Regions from separate parts of the Homo sapiens genome. Here regions 2, 3, 4 and 5 are each linked to region 1. The links are contacts of gene promoters, found by promoter capture Hi-C in blood cells and fetal thymus (Javierre and others, 2016). All regions are on one chromosome and are shown on one strand. Each heading gives the region's core, a stretch centred on a gene start or on the middle of the fragment in contact. The rest is flanking DNA. Distances are from core to core; before and after follow the strand shown.

The links. Contacts are between HindIII fragments. The CHiCAGO score rates a contact against its expected background, and 5 or more counts as called.
Region 2: a fragment that was not itself captured here is called in contact with the fragment with the promoter of TOR3A in region 1 in 1 of 17 cell types (naive B cells); the score reaches 6.3 in naive B cells.
Region 3: a contact is called between a fragment that was not itself captured here and the fragment with the promoter of TOR3A in region 1, in 1 of 17 cell types (neutrophils). The highest score is 5.6, in neutrophils.
Region 4: a fragment that was not itself captured here is called in contact with the fragment with the promoter of TOR3A in region 1 in 5 of 17 cell types (neutrophils, naive CD8 T cells, naive B cells and 2 more); the score reaches 15.1 in neutrophils.
Region 5: a contact is called between a fragment that was not itself captured here and the fragment with the promoter of TOR3A in region 1, in 3 of 17 cell types (naive B cells, erythroblasts and endothelial precursors). The highest score is 7.0, in naive B cells.

The regions. Positions count from the first base shown.
Region 1 is chr1:179,080,685-179,083,424 of GRCh38, reverse strand. TOR3A (torsin family 3 member A) reads right to left here and starts at 1,355. Exons shown (of 6, transcript NM_022371.4): 1 at 1,038-1,355; 2 at 372-485. The coding sequence starts at 1,296. RefSeq lists silencers at 781-950, 1,091-1,380. The HindIII fragment of the contact is 9,470 bases long and covers 1-2,740 here.
Region 2 is chr1:178,302,822-178,305,561 of GRCh38, reverse strand. The region is part of intron 3 of RASAL2 (RAS protein activator like 2); the gene reads right to left. Among named protein-coding and RNA genes, the nearest start is that of CLEC20A, 190 kb to the left of the region's middle. The HindIII fragment of the contact is 8,677 bases long and covers 1-2,740 here.
Region 3 is chr1:179,826,124-179,828,863 of GRCh38, reverse strand. It overlaps LINC02818 (long intergenic non-protein coding RNA 2818), which reads left to right. Exons shown (of 3, transcript XR_001738312.3): 2 at 1-469. Among named protein-coding and RNA genes, the nearest start is that of LINC02818, 9.1 kb to the left of the region's middle. The HindIII fragment of the contact is 981 bases long and covers 878-1,858 here.
Region 4 is chr1:179,805,108-179,807,847 of GRCh38, reverse strand. It overlaps FAM163A (family with sequence similarity 163 member A), which reads right to left. Exons shown (of 5, transcript NM_173509.3): 2 at 1-50. Among named protein-coding and RNA genes, the nearest start is that of MIR12116, 2.6 kb to the right of the region's middle. The HindIII fragment of the contact is 8,201 bases long and covers 1-2,740 here.
Region 5 is chr1:178,525,627-178,528,366 of GRCh38, reverse strand. It overlaps LOC105371631 (a long non-coding RNA gene), which reads left to right. Exons shown (of 5, transcript XR_922310.3): 3 at 228-337; 4 at 1,066-1,148; 5 at 1,969-2,202. Among named protein-coding and RNA genes, the nearest start is that of TEX35, 14 kb to the right of the region's middle. The HindIII fragment of the contact is 365 bases long and covers 1,140-1,504 here.

The sequences.
Region 1 (2,740 bases), core at 106-2,605:
CAAGCCTCCGTCTCAAAAAAAAAAAAGAAAAGAAAGGGACACTTTTAATCACAACCCAGAATTTCTGATCAGTTCTCTCTGGATAGTTCCAGCCCCCTCTGAGAGGTAGCTGTTTCTGTTTAGAGTGAAACAAGGTGCTCTGGGCCTGACAAACAGCTCAGTTTGCCTGGGCTATTAAGCTAGAGGCTAAAAAGGGGCTTCCCTGACTCAAGCATTTGGTACTCCCTCAAAACTTCAGTCAGACTGTGGCAGTTCCTGCTTGTCGGGAGGCTGGGCAGGATGACGAAAGGTCCCTTGCATCTAACCATTTCCCCTGGACTGCCTCCCCTCCCCACAGATCCCTAGCCCCTTGAAGCCATGCGGGGTCCAACCTGTAAAGTTGTTGGAGATTCTGCAATCCCCTCTAGGGCAGCAGTCTTTGAAGCTGCAGTACCACGTGGTCAGGAGGTCCAGGTACCGCTGGCCCAACAGAGGAAGGCGCCAGCCTGGAAAAGGAGGAGCTGTGAGACCGAGAGGAGACCATCCGGTGCTCTACAGTGATGCGGCAACCTTGCCACACAACTTGTCAGGGACAGAGGGACACCCAGAACTCAGATTCTAACTCCCAGCCCCGACTCGGCCCACTGTCGGTCCTCAAGCCCTGCGTCCAAAAGCAGCAAGGGAGACGGCAGTCACCAGGCATGTCCACAGCGGACGTTCCCTAGAGCTGTCAAGAGCAACACCTTCGAATAACGCCAGGGTGGGCTGGGAGATGGCACAGGCGGTGCGAGAGAATCTGGAAAGCGCAGGGATCAGGGGAGGCGGGGGACGGGAAGCCGGGCGCCAGGGGGGTGCGCAGGGGACGCGGGTGGGGCAAGGGCGGTGATGGGGCTCCCTGCTCCGCGGAGGCTGCCCCCGCCCACAGCCGGTACCGGCGGCTGAGCAGAGCAGGACTGCGGGCCCAGATGTCGCCCCGGACAGGAGCGAGGCGACCACAGCCGCGCCCGGATCGCACTCTGCTCCGCAGCGAACGGCGGACCGTGGGGACGGGGTCTTACCCAGGGGCCCCGTGGCTGCCTCCTCGTCCTCGTCACAGTCGTCGGGCCACACCTGGCAGCTGAAGAGCGTCCAGTACCGCTTGGAGAGGGCACCCGCCGCCCTGAGCTGCTCCTGCAGGCGCTGGAAGCCCGGCCAGGCCCAGGCCGAGCCCGGCTCGTCGGTTCCCTCCCACGGCCTGGAGGCGCCGCGGGGCTCAGGCGCGCCCGGGAGCAGCAGCAGGAAAAAGAGCCAAAGCTGGCGCCACGGACCGCGAAGCATGGCCGGCCCCGAGCTGCGGGACCATCCGGCTGCCGGCCTAGCCAGGCTCCCTTAAGCCCGGGGCGGTCAGGCGGGGACCGCACTTCCTAGGCGGGCTTGAACCCGGGATTGGTGTTGCTGTGGCGACCGGCGGGCCGGGCTGAGTGCGCACTGGCAGCCTCCGTACACGTGACCCAGGCGGGAACCCGAAACCCTGTCTGGGGTCCTGAGAGGCAGTCCCGAGACTGACTTCAGGCCAGGTGCAACTAGCCGGCTTCCAGGAAGCAGTTTATTCTGGGTCGTGATTGTGGTTGCAAAGAAGGTGAACTCAGGCTTTGAAATGGCCACTGTCAATCACTCCGCTAGGACTTTCGGACGGCTCTGGTGGCCCATCAGAGGCCTACCGAATAAGGACACTCCTGCTTTGCCTCGCGTTTGCAGATCAACTTCCCGCCAACCTGTTAGAGGAAGCCGGAAAACCGTCTCAGTCAGGAGCGTTAGGCAGGCCAGGGGAGTCAGCTGAGTGGAGAAGAGGCCCTGGAAAGAAGGGCACAGCTAGGTGCCTGTCTGGCCAAGGTTGCCCTGGCTCCTCCGCAGAGGGAAATGAAACCGCAGCAAAACACCAGCAGGTTTCCACAGTGGGAGTCCACGAAAAGCAAGAGGAAGCTGATTGACGGGCTCCAGTCTGGAGGTGTTTGGAGTTTGGAAACCCCCCGAGTCATGGGTAAATCATGAGGCGTCATGTCAATGTAATTATATCTCATAAAAATCCGAAGTACTGTGTGCACTTTCTTGACTAGGTTTGCAACTTTCAAGTGCTGGGACTGAGCAGCCCATCCGACACCATTGGCAAAAGACTACAGGGCCTCTTTCCCTCAGCGCTCTCTTCTCCATAGCGAGGAGCATGGAACAAGGCTGTTAGATTTCAGAAGAGCTTAATGCATTGTTTAAAATCACCTGGCTTACTTCAGCCAAGCCAAAAAGCCGTCTTGTCTTAGGAGAAAACTGCTGTCTAGAGAGATCAGAGGACTTGGCTAATGTCATATGTTTAGTGGCTTTGAGGTTGGGCCCTCCAGACAGTAAGGTGAATACTAGCACCGTGTCTCACAAATGTCACAGGCAACTTGATTCATCTGTTCACCCCAGTCTCTTAGATCACACCGTGCCAGGTCTGCTCCATTCTCAGCAGCTCACCAAATTTGTGCCTTTCATTCGAACAGCTACAGAAACTAGATAAAGCACCTTTGCTAGGACACGAGGTTGAGTTGAAAAGTAAAATGTTTATAGTGTCTCAGCCATTCAGTGTGATGTCAAAAACTTTTCATAGAGTAGCAGCCATGGCACCAGCCCAGCACTGTGTACATCGAGCTTGCGGAGTCCACCGGAGACAGTTAACAGCACATACACCACAGTGCTTATTGGAAAACCAAAAAAAATTAGGCAGGGTGTGGTGGCTCACGCCTGT
Region 2 (2,740 bases), core at 160-2,659, 780 kb after region 1:
ATTCTTGAATATTCTATTTCTCACTTTCCACATCCAATCCATTAAGCAAATTCTGAGTTCACTGTAGGTGTGTGGATTTGTTTCTGGATTCTCTGTTCCACTGGTCTGTGTGTCTGTTTTTCTGCCTGTGCCGTGCTATTTTGGTTACTATACCTCTGTACTGTAATTTGAACTCAGGTAATGTGATTCCTCTAGTTTTGTTCCTTTTGCTCAGAATGACTTTGGCTATTCAGGGTCTTTTGTGATTCCATATAAATTTTAGTATTGTTTTTTCTATTTCTGTGAAGAATGTCATTGGTATTTTGATAGGAATTGCACTGGATTTGTCGACTGCTTTGTGCAGTATGGACATTATAACAATATTGATTCTTCCAACCCATGAACATGAAATATCTTTCCATTTGTTGCCATCCTCTTCAATTTCTTTCATCAGTATTTTATAGTTTTCATTGTAGCGATACTCACTTCTTTGGTTAATTCCTAGGTACTTCATTTTACTTGTGGCTCTTGTAAATGGGATTACTTTTTAAATTTCTTTTTTTCAGATTGTTCACTGTTAACATACAGAAATGCCACTGATTTTTGTATGCTGATTTGGTATCCTGTAACTTTACTGAATTTGTTTATCAGTCCTAACAGTTTTTTAGTGGAGTCTTTAGGTTTCTCCAAATATAAGATCGTATCATCTGCAAACAAGAATAAGTTGGCTTCTTCCTTTCTAATTTGGATGCCCTTTATTTCCTTCTCTTGTCTGACTGCTCTAGCTAGGACTTCCAGTACTATAACAAATAAGAGTGGTAAAAGTGCACAACCTTGTTGTGTTCCAGATCTAAGAGGAAACGCTTTCAGTTTTTCCACAGGCAAACGTTTAAGAAGAATTGTCTCCATTTGCTGTTTTGATTTCCTTATCACACTATCTTCTCAACTCATTTCAGTAGGGCTTCTGCTGCCACATACCATTAAAACTACAGTTCCTAAACTTACCAAGAACCCTAATGTCACTTAATCTAATGTGTGGTTTTTGTTTTGTTTTGTTTTTGAGACAAGGTCTCACTCTGTCGCCTAAGCTAGAGTGCAGTGGTGTGATCTCAGCTCACGGTAGCCTCAACCTCCCAGGCTCAAGAGATCCTCCCACTTTAGCCTTCAGAGTAGCTGAGACTACAGATGTGTGCCACCATGCCTGGCTAATTTTTTTATTTTGTAGAGATAAGGGTCTCACTATGTTGTCTAGGCTGGTCTCATACTCCTAGACATAAGTGACCCTCCAGCTTCAGCCTCCCAAAGTGCTGGGATTATAGGTGTGAGCCATCACACCTGGCCTAATGATTTTCGTTAGTCCTCATCCTAGTGGCCCTTTTGGTAGCATAAAACAGAGTTGGCTATATAGTTCTTAATCCTCCCTACTGTGTACTTTGTAATAGTATAGACCACTTATGTGACAGTACAATTTAGCTTGTTTTTCTTTGTCTTTTTAAAATTTTCTTTAAGTATAACACACATATGCTCAATGAATTATCACAAAGTGAACACACCTGTGTAATTCCTACCCAAGTCAACAAACAGAACACCACTGGCACTCCAGAATCCACCTTTATATTTCTCCCAATCACTATTCATGCCTCCTCCCCAAAAGTAACCACCATCCTAATAACTAACACCATAGATTAGTTTTAACGGTTTTGGAACTTGATATAAACGGAATCAGACAGGATGTACTAATTTGTGTCTGTTCCTCAGTGAACTCTTCGTTAAAATATCTGTTCAAGCCTCTTGCTCATTTTCTACGAGGAAGCATTTATATATACTAGATAAAAGCCCTTTGTTCATTATAGGTGTTGCAAATATATTATTCTACTCTGTGGTTTGCCTTTTCATTCTCTTAATGATGTACTGATTGACAGAATTCTTAATCTTAATATAGTCCAATGTATCAATTATTTCCATTACAATTTGTGTTTTTTGTATTGTTTAAGACAAACTTGTCCAACCCACGGTCCATGGGCTGCATGCAGCCCAGGATGGTTCTGAATGCAGCCCAACACAAATTCTTAAACTTTCTTAAAACATTATGAGATTTTTGCATGAACCTTTTTTTTTTTTAAGCTCATCAGCTGTCGTTAGTGTTAGTGCATTTTGGGTGTGGTCCAAGACAATTCTTCTTCTGATGTGGCCCAGGAAAGCGAAAAGATTGGACACTCCTGACTTAAGAAATCTTTCTTTATCCAAGATCATGAAAATATCCTACACTATTTCTAGAAGTTTTATTGTATTATCTCTCTTGTTCAGATCTTGGAATTGATATTGTGCATGGTTATAAGGTCACTATCTTATAGGTCAATTCCTCCTCATTCCCACCCCACTCCAAAAAGATATGTTATTGAGCCAGCACCAATGACTAAAAAGACTGTCTTTTCTCTCACTGCCGTGAGGGAAATGTCACACCAAATGTCCTTATATATGGGATAACTTCAAGACTCTCTATTCTATTTCACTATTCTATTTGTTTATTCTTCCACCAACACACTATTATACTTTGTTTTTTTTTGAGATGGAGTGTCGCTCTGTCTCCCAGGCTGGAGTGCAGTGGCTCAATCTTGGCTCACTGCAACCTCCACCTCCTGGGTTCAAGCGATTCTCCTGCCTCAGCCTCCTGAGTAACTGGGACTACAGGCACATGCCACCACACTCGAGACAGGGTTTCACCATATTGACCAGGCTGGTCTTGAACTCCTGACCTCGT
Region 3 (2,740 bases), core at 119-2,618, 750 kb before region 1:
GCAGGGCCTGATGTGCAGCTGGAAGTAGAGGGATTGGCCCTGGAGTCTCCACTGGCTGGGCTGGGAATGGTTCTAGACACTGGTCTCAGGCTGGACAGATGCGTGTTTGTTCCCCATGCTCCTGCGCAAGGGGCAGAGCTACAGTTGCTACTGATGTACCAAGAGGCTGACTGTCCTCAGTGTGTCCACTCCAGGAGAGAACCATGGCCTCATGTGCTTGCAGCCCTGCCTGGCCACTCAGGGTGCTTTACGTTGCTGCAGTGCTCTTGGTTTCATGCCACTGCCTTTGGGAGACAGCAGTGTCTGTGGATACCTCTCTGGACCTGGATACCCAGGTCAGTCAGCAGCTCCTGAAAAACCTGCACCTGAAAAAGTCCCAGCCCTGACCTCCAGACTGCTGCCAGTGGCTCTAGAATCCTACCTTTCACAGCTGGACATGGAAGCAAGAAGGGTGGTGGCACCATATTGGGTAAGTTGGCTTTGGGGAGTTTCAGTCTGGAAGAATCTATAAATGACCAGCTAGTTTTGTTAGGTTGGTCCCGATTGCTGTGTAATTCCCAAAAGGGAAGAAGCTCAGAGAAGCAGGGAGAAAGAAACTGAAAACTCAGATGCTACCAAAGGAGTGTGGCTTTGGTTGTTCAATACTTCGTGCTCCAGATCATGAAGCTGATGAGGAAAGCCCTGGCAGGTCTCCGAGTGCTCTGAGGTACAGGTCCGAGCAGACGCCCCAGCTCCAAGTCCTCAAATTACCCCGTTTGTTGCAAATGGACTGTGGAATCATTTTCCCCAGGAGTTCAAACTACAATCTTACTAAACCTCTGCCATCATCATGTGCTTGGGTGTAAATGAAGCCCCAGTATTTAATCCTCTTAAAGCTTGTAACCTAACAGGATGTGGAGGAATTGAACTCTGGGACACTGTTGGTGGGATCGCAAAATGTTGCAGCTGCTGTGGCAAACGGGATGGGGATGGTGGTTCCTCAAAAAATTACAAATAGTATTACCACATGATCCAGCAACTCTACTTCTAGGGACAGAAGTAGAATTCCCAAAAGAATGGAAAGCATGGTCTCAACAACAATGTATTTCTTTTCTTTTTTTTTTTTTTTGAGATGGGATTTCCCTCTTGTCTCCCCGGCTGGAGTGCAATGGCGCAATCTCCTCTCACTGCAATTTCCGCCTCCTGGGTTCAAGCGAGTCTCCTGCCTCAGCCTCACAAGTAGCTGGGATTACAGGTGCCCACCACCACGCCCGGCTAATTTTTGTATTGTTGGTAGAGACTGGGTTTCACCATGTTGGCCAGGCTGGTCTCGAACTCCTGACTTCAGGTGATCTGCCCACCTCAGGCTCCCAAAGTGCTGAGATTACAGGCATGAGCCACTGCGCCTGGCTCTCAATGATGTATTTCTACACCCATGTTCATAGCAGTGTTATTCACAGTAACTAAAATGTGGAGGCAACCCATTTATCCATCCACAGATGAATGGATAAGTAAAGTATAGCATACATACAATGACATATTATTCAGCCTTAAAAGGAGGGAAATTCCGACCTGCCACATGAGATGAGCCTTGAGAACGTTATGCTGAGTGAAATAAGCCATTCACAAAAAGACAAATACCGTATGATTCCACTTATGTGAGGCACTTAGAGTGGGCAAAATCATAAAGGCAGAAAGTTAGAATGGTGGTTGCCTGGGGCTGGGGGTTGAGGGAATGGGGAGCTTTTGTTTTATGGGTATAGAGTTTCAGTTTTGCAAGATGAAGAGTCACGGCAGTGGATGGTGGTGACGGTCACACATTATGAATGTGCTTGATACCACTGAACTGCTGCCCACTTAATGGTGAAGGTGATAAGCTTTATATGTGTATTTTACCACAGTGAAAGACATTGAAAAGAAAAAAAAAAACCCTCCAGCCTATGAAAGACAGGAGTGCATCTGGTTCCTTCAGCTGGCTTTGGCTGGCTGTAAAGCGTGTGCAAGGCCTGTGTTGGGTGCTGGGGCCAGTGCAGTGGGGAATCCAGCCTCAAGGAACAACCTGTCCGCAAGGGAAAATATAGGGCATGCCAGATACCAGCAATCCAGCAACACGCGGGGAGGTGGAGAGAGGATGTTTTGCTTATCCAGAAAAGGGAGTGATTGCTTCCAGGGGCCTCAGGGGAATAAATCATAGAATCCTGGACAAGGTTTGAAGGACAGGTAGGATTTGGGTGGGTGGAGGAGGGTGCATGGGGTCAGAATTGTAACCGAAAACTCATTCCAGGTGGATAGAGAAAATTTCTAGTGTTGTTGTTTTTAAACTATTTGGGGGACTGGCACAGACCCTTTTTGAATACCTGATGGGCTCACATTTCTGTCGAATCCCAGCGGGTTCCTAGACCTCAGGATCATTTAAATGGATCCGTTTGGGTGGGGTTCAGGGCCAAGGTCTGGCGATGCCAGGAGTGTATGCCTGGTTTGTTCCCTCACCCCTACTCCTGTGGTCAGTGCTCCGCTTGCTGGGACATCCTGGGACCACGAGGAGATGGCCCAGTGCAGCAAGGCCTGGAGAGAAGGCTGTGGGGTCTACCCCAGTGAACAGCTTCTGCCTGGGGACCTGTGAGTGGTCTGCCCCGAGGCTTCTGCCATCCATCTCCTCAGCTGGCACAGCCCAGGACCTCAGTGTGCTCACAGCCTGGGAGGAAGGAGGCCAGGCCAGGCCGCATAAGGCTGAGCCGCCCACCCCACCACTGTTTCCTTT
Region 4 (2,740 bases), core at 135-2,634, 720 kb before region 1:
CACCTGAGCAGACAGCAGTTGGGGGTGCGTCTGGCCAAGGGCATCAGTCCCTGCCAGAGAAGAGAAGGAAAGGCTCATGAGAGCTGGACAGGGAGGCTGAGGACAGACAGGCTCCTGCTGGCCCCCAGTTGTGACCCCAGCTTCTAGAGTGGAAGTCTCTCCAGGGGTTTGCTTCTTGAGGTAAACCTCCACAGCTGCCTTGGTTTCCGAGGCCCCAGCCTAAGAACCTGAGGACAGACCTGTAAGGTTACACCTATCCCAGCTTTGTCTCCTTCCCTCTGTGCTGCTGCTGGAAGCCTGTGCCCAGGGCAGCGGCAGGATGCTGGGCACATGTCTGGGAGGTGACGGCGAGTGGGGCAGGGCGCTCGGCTGGCTTTCTCCTGCTCCACTGGAGGATCTGGATCTGTGCTCAGTGGATGTGTCCTTGTTGCCTGCATGACTGACCCTGCTCTTAACATACCTCTTTCCCAGCCCCTTTCCCACGGTTTCCCGGGCCTATTTTTCCCAGTGCCCGGGCTGCACACTTCCTTCCCCTACTCCAATATCCTGACTTCTATCAGGCCAAAGATGGTGACTGGACAGCCAGATGAGCAAGTTCAGGCTGCTGCGCTGATGGTGGAGGGGGAGGCAGGGCCCTCCCGAGACATCCAGGAATCCAGGGTAGGCTAATTTTTGGGGGTCTCTTTACATTGTTTCATTTGTTTATTCATTTAACCAATCAGTCTAACCCAGGACAGTGTTGACCTTTCTTTTTTTTTTTTTCTGAGACACAGTCTTGCTCTGTCACTCAGGGTGGAGTGCCACTGCAACCTCGGCCTCCCGGGTTCAAGCTATTCTCCCGCCTCAGCCTCCCAAGTAGCTGGTACTACAGGCACATGCCACCGTGCCCAGCTATTTTGTGTTTTTAGTAGAGATAGAGTTTCACCACATTGGCCAGGCTGGTCTCAAACTCTTGACCCTAAGTGACCCTCCTGCCTTGGCCTCCCAAAGTGCTGGGATTACAGGCTTGAACCACTATGCCCGGCCAGGACAGTGTTGATCTTTAAATAACCACTCAACATTATTCGGAAGAGTCTGGACCCTACACTGAGAGAAGGAGGGAGAGGAGGGATGCCCTGTAGGGGTGATGCTCAGCCCTGGCTCAGAGGAAAGGCCCCCCCTGGGTGGGGGATGTTTGTATTGGGGAGGAAACCCAGCCATTAACCACATCCACAGAGCCACCTTCCCAAGGGGACAGGGCTAACCACCTCCAGGTTCTCACCCTCGGCCAGAAACTGGAGGTCAAAGGACAGACATTAGCATGATGCCTCACGGACTGGGGCTGTCTGAGCCCAGCAGCTCTCAGGGGCAGAGCCCTGGGGAAAGCTGAGAAGGAGGCAGAGTGACTGCGTGACAGAACAGCCCTGTCCCCGTATCACCTCTCTCCTAGATCTAGGCCTTCCTACACTCTCCCAGCTCCTGCCTTGGACATTCTGGGCACTTAGGCTTTCTTTTCTCCAAGATGTTCTCATTCACATTAACCTGTGATGTAGAGTTTAATGCGACTGGGTATCACAGTGGGGCTCTTGCTGCACGAGTTCTGACAGGGCAAAGGATAGAAATCAGAAGGTGAAAGTGAGCCTGGGGCAGGGCCCTCTGCCCCTGGCTGTGCACAGACTGTACAATGGGAATGTAAAAGCATCTGTCTCAGGATCCGTGGATGCTTTCACCCACTTTATAAAATACATATAGGACCATAACTTGGTGAAGGTTTGCTGAGGAGATTTCCATGGTGAGAGGTGTTGCTGAGCTATGTATCCCAAGGGAGGAGAGCTCTGGGGCTGGCTGTCTTGAGTCAATATTGTGTAAGTGTCAACAGGGAGAAGACCTGAACTGAAGAGGCTGCAGGCGGCCTCCAGATGCCCAGAGGCTGAGCAAGGGGTTGCAAAAGACTCCTGGAAGAGAGATGCAGTGCTTGAGTGGGTGAAGGGAACTTCGGAAGAGAGGGGTCCAGCCCAGCAGGGAACCCCAGGAGAGCCCACAAAAACATTTCCAAAAGCAGGAGCCAGTTTTAAGTTTCTCTAAGCTCTCTAACCAGTAAGAACCCCGAATTTCGATCCCGGCCAGTGGTAAAACAGCAGCTCCTGGGCGGGTGGTAGGGAAGAGAGAACAGGGCGGTGTAGACAGCAGAGGGACGTGTGGGGGCCCACCTCAGGTGCTTCCAGCTTGAGCAGAGAGAAACTGGAAGAAAGGAGAAAAACAATGCGGTCAGAGTAAGAGCGTTTCATTACTCATGATTATTATGCATTCCTTTTTTTTTTTTTGAGACGGAGTTTTGGGAGTTTTGCTCTGTTGCGCAGGCTGGAGTGAAGTGGCACAATCTCGGCTCACTGCAACCTCCGCCCCACCAGGTTAAAGCGATTAATGCTGGCTTTAAGGCAGGATGCCTCAGCCTCTCAAGTAGCTCAGATTATAGGCGCCCGCCACCACCCCCGGCTAATTTTTGTATTTTTAGTAGAAATGGGGTTTCACCATGTTGTCCAGGCTGGTCTCAAACTCCTGACCTCAGGTGACCCACCTGCCTCAGCCTCCCAAAGTACTAGGATTACAGGCGTGAGCCAGCATGCCCGGCCTATGATGCATTCTAATGTCTGAGTGGACTGTATCTATAACTTACAGTAACTATAAGGCTATCACCGAAGACTGGATGAAAAAGCAATGGGATTGGGCCAAGTTTTTTTTCTAGGGGCAGGGGAAGATT
Region 5 (2,740 bases), core at 73-2,572, 560 kb after region 1:
GGGATGGACACTGGATAGTATGGAGAATTTTCTTGGGATCGCCCCCAAACCTGCACAGTCCCGGAGGGCTCCATGTGACAGGAGACCCCTGTTGGCACCCCAGGACCCTCGGGGATGTCCACAGTCCCAAGGCCACAGAGCCAAGAGGGCAGGAGTGGGTCAGAAGGGCCAACATGTGAATCTGTCAGGCTAGGCAGCAAAAGTTCAACCAAAAAATTTTTCCTCAGCCCCTGCCAAGTGCAGGGTTCTGACCACCATGCTGAGGATGAAGATGAAGACAGCATAAGCTCTGCCTCTAGAAACTGACAATCTGCATGGAGAGGAAAGACATATGCAGGTTGGAACAGTAAGATGGGAAACACCTCTACACGGCCGAGTGACCTATTCCTTGGGTCAATGAGGAGCTGTTAGAGCAGAGGGCAGTGCAGCGGGGATGATGGGAGATTCCTGGAGCTCAGAGAAGAAGGGGAGTGAAGGCAAGGATATGGGAATGTGAAGGGCACATTTGGGACCCTAGAGTGTAGGGTTTACAGATAGGAACGGGGGAGAAAAGGTGAAAAATAATATGGGAAATGCAAGGCCTTGAACGGCAGGTTAAAGAGTGTGTCTGTTATCCCACCAGTAATCAGCCCTGGGGATGGTTTTTGAGCAAGACGGTGAGTTGCAGAGTAAAGTAGTAGTTCGGGAGGAAATCTCTGGAAGTGGCGTGGACAATGGATTCCAGGCTGTGAGAAGAAACTCCTGGAGTCAAGAGGACTGGGTCAGAAGCTACTGGACATAGCTCAGGATCCAGACACTAAGAGCTTGGATTAGAGTGTGTATGGGAGAGGGGAGAATTCAGGAATAAACATTTGAAATGGTTAAAGGCCATGGGACCCAGGTGCTCATTTGCTATGGGAGATGGAGAAGATGTGAAGCTTTAATGACTAACGTGGTACCAAGGGCAGAAAAAGGGCATGCTCTCCACAGCCACGCAGCCATCAAGTGGCAGGGGCAGGGCATAATCAATGAATTCTACACAGTCTCTGCCCTTAAGGGACTCACATCCTCTTTTTTCATCCTCAGCTCTTCGGAAAAGGCCCTAAGAAGCCATCAAAGATATGTCATGGAGGAAGCCATCGAAGAGGAAAGAGGAAGCTTTGTAACAGGTACTTTACCTGTATTCTCAGAAATCCTCAAAATAACCAAAGGAGCTCTGGGACCAGCTGCTCAGGGCAGGGGGCTCTGAGCTCCACAGCACTCCAGGTTTCCTCCAGGGATGTTTAGTCCAGGGCACCAAGTGGACAGGCAAACAGACAGGCTGGTGAAAGCCCTGTGGGGGGATGAGGTCCAACCTTTGGCTGGAGATCAGCCTGTGCTCTAGCTGTCAGAGAACTGAGCAAAGACAAGGACTCCCATCAGCAAGTCAGACAGAGAAGGGTTTGGGGACACGGGGAAGTTTGGTTTTGGCTGTGTTGAAGTTGACAGGATGATGAGGCCCTGAAACAACAGGTAGATCCAAGCTTGGGTGACAGGTCAGGGCTTGAGTCCAAGGCTTGGGGTCACCTGCCAGAGACCGTGATTTGAGGCCACTGGTCAAGTTCATGCTTCTTTTCTTTCTTTTTTTTTTTTTTTTGAGATGGAGTCTCACTCTGTCCCCCAGGCTGGAGTGCGATGGTGCAATCTCGGCTCACTGCAACCTCTGCCTCCCGGGATTAAGTGATTCTCCTGCCTTAGCCTCCGAAGTAGCTGGGATTACAGGGGCCCACCACCATGCCAGGCTAATTTTTGTATTTTTAGTAGAGATGGGGTTTCTCTATGTTGGTCAGGCTGGTCTCAAACTCCTGACCTCAGGTGATCCACCCACCTTGGCCTCCCAAAGTGCTGGGATTACAGTCATGAGCCACCGCAGCTGGCCAAGTTCATGATGCTTTAGAGCAAAGTTGACATTGGTACCTCTTAAACAAATTTATATTCCCTCTCAACCAGTTTACCTGGGAGGAATAACAAGCTGCCATATGAATACTGATGAGAAAGGAGGTGGGAGAGACATTTGATCATCAATCAAGTTATGATTATGAACACTCAGTTAAGAAAGAAATGTGAAGTCAGTGTTCCTGAACATGAAGAACAAGACCAGGGGTTGGGTTTTGGAGTCACACGGACTTTTTTTGTTCCAGCTCATTTGTCTTTTTACCCATTAATAAATTAATCTAAACTCTAGATTCCAGAGCCAGTTTGATCTCTTTCAGGAGGCCCTGTGTCAATTTGGTTTCGACCTCCTGGTCCTGAGGGTTGATACTGAGTGCTACATACTCATTCACTGAGCAGTGTGTTAATTCTGGGGCTGCTGTGTTGAGTGAGACAGACTCAATTTCTACCCTCCAACTCCAAGAAGGAAGTGAAGTAGGTCCCTAGAAAAATGTCAGGTAATTAAGGGAAAAGCCTAGGGGTCATCCATGTTGAGAATGGAGGCAGATGCTATGGTCTGAAAGTTTATGTCCCTCAGAACTTGTATGCTGAAACCTAACCTCCAAGGGGATGATGGATGGTATTAGAGTTGGGGGATTGGGTCATGATGGCAGCACCCTCACGAATGGAATTAGTGCCTCTTATAAAAGAGAGACCTCTTGCCCCATCTACCATGTGAAGACACATGAGAAGATGCCATCTGTGACCCAGGAAATGCCTGCATTAGAAACCAGATCTGCCGGTGCCTTGAGCTTGAACTTTACAGCCTGCAGGACTGTGAGAAATAAAT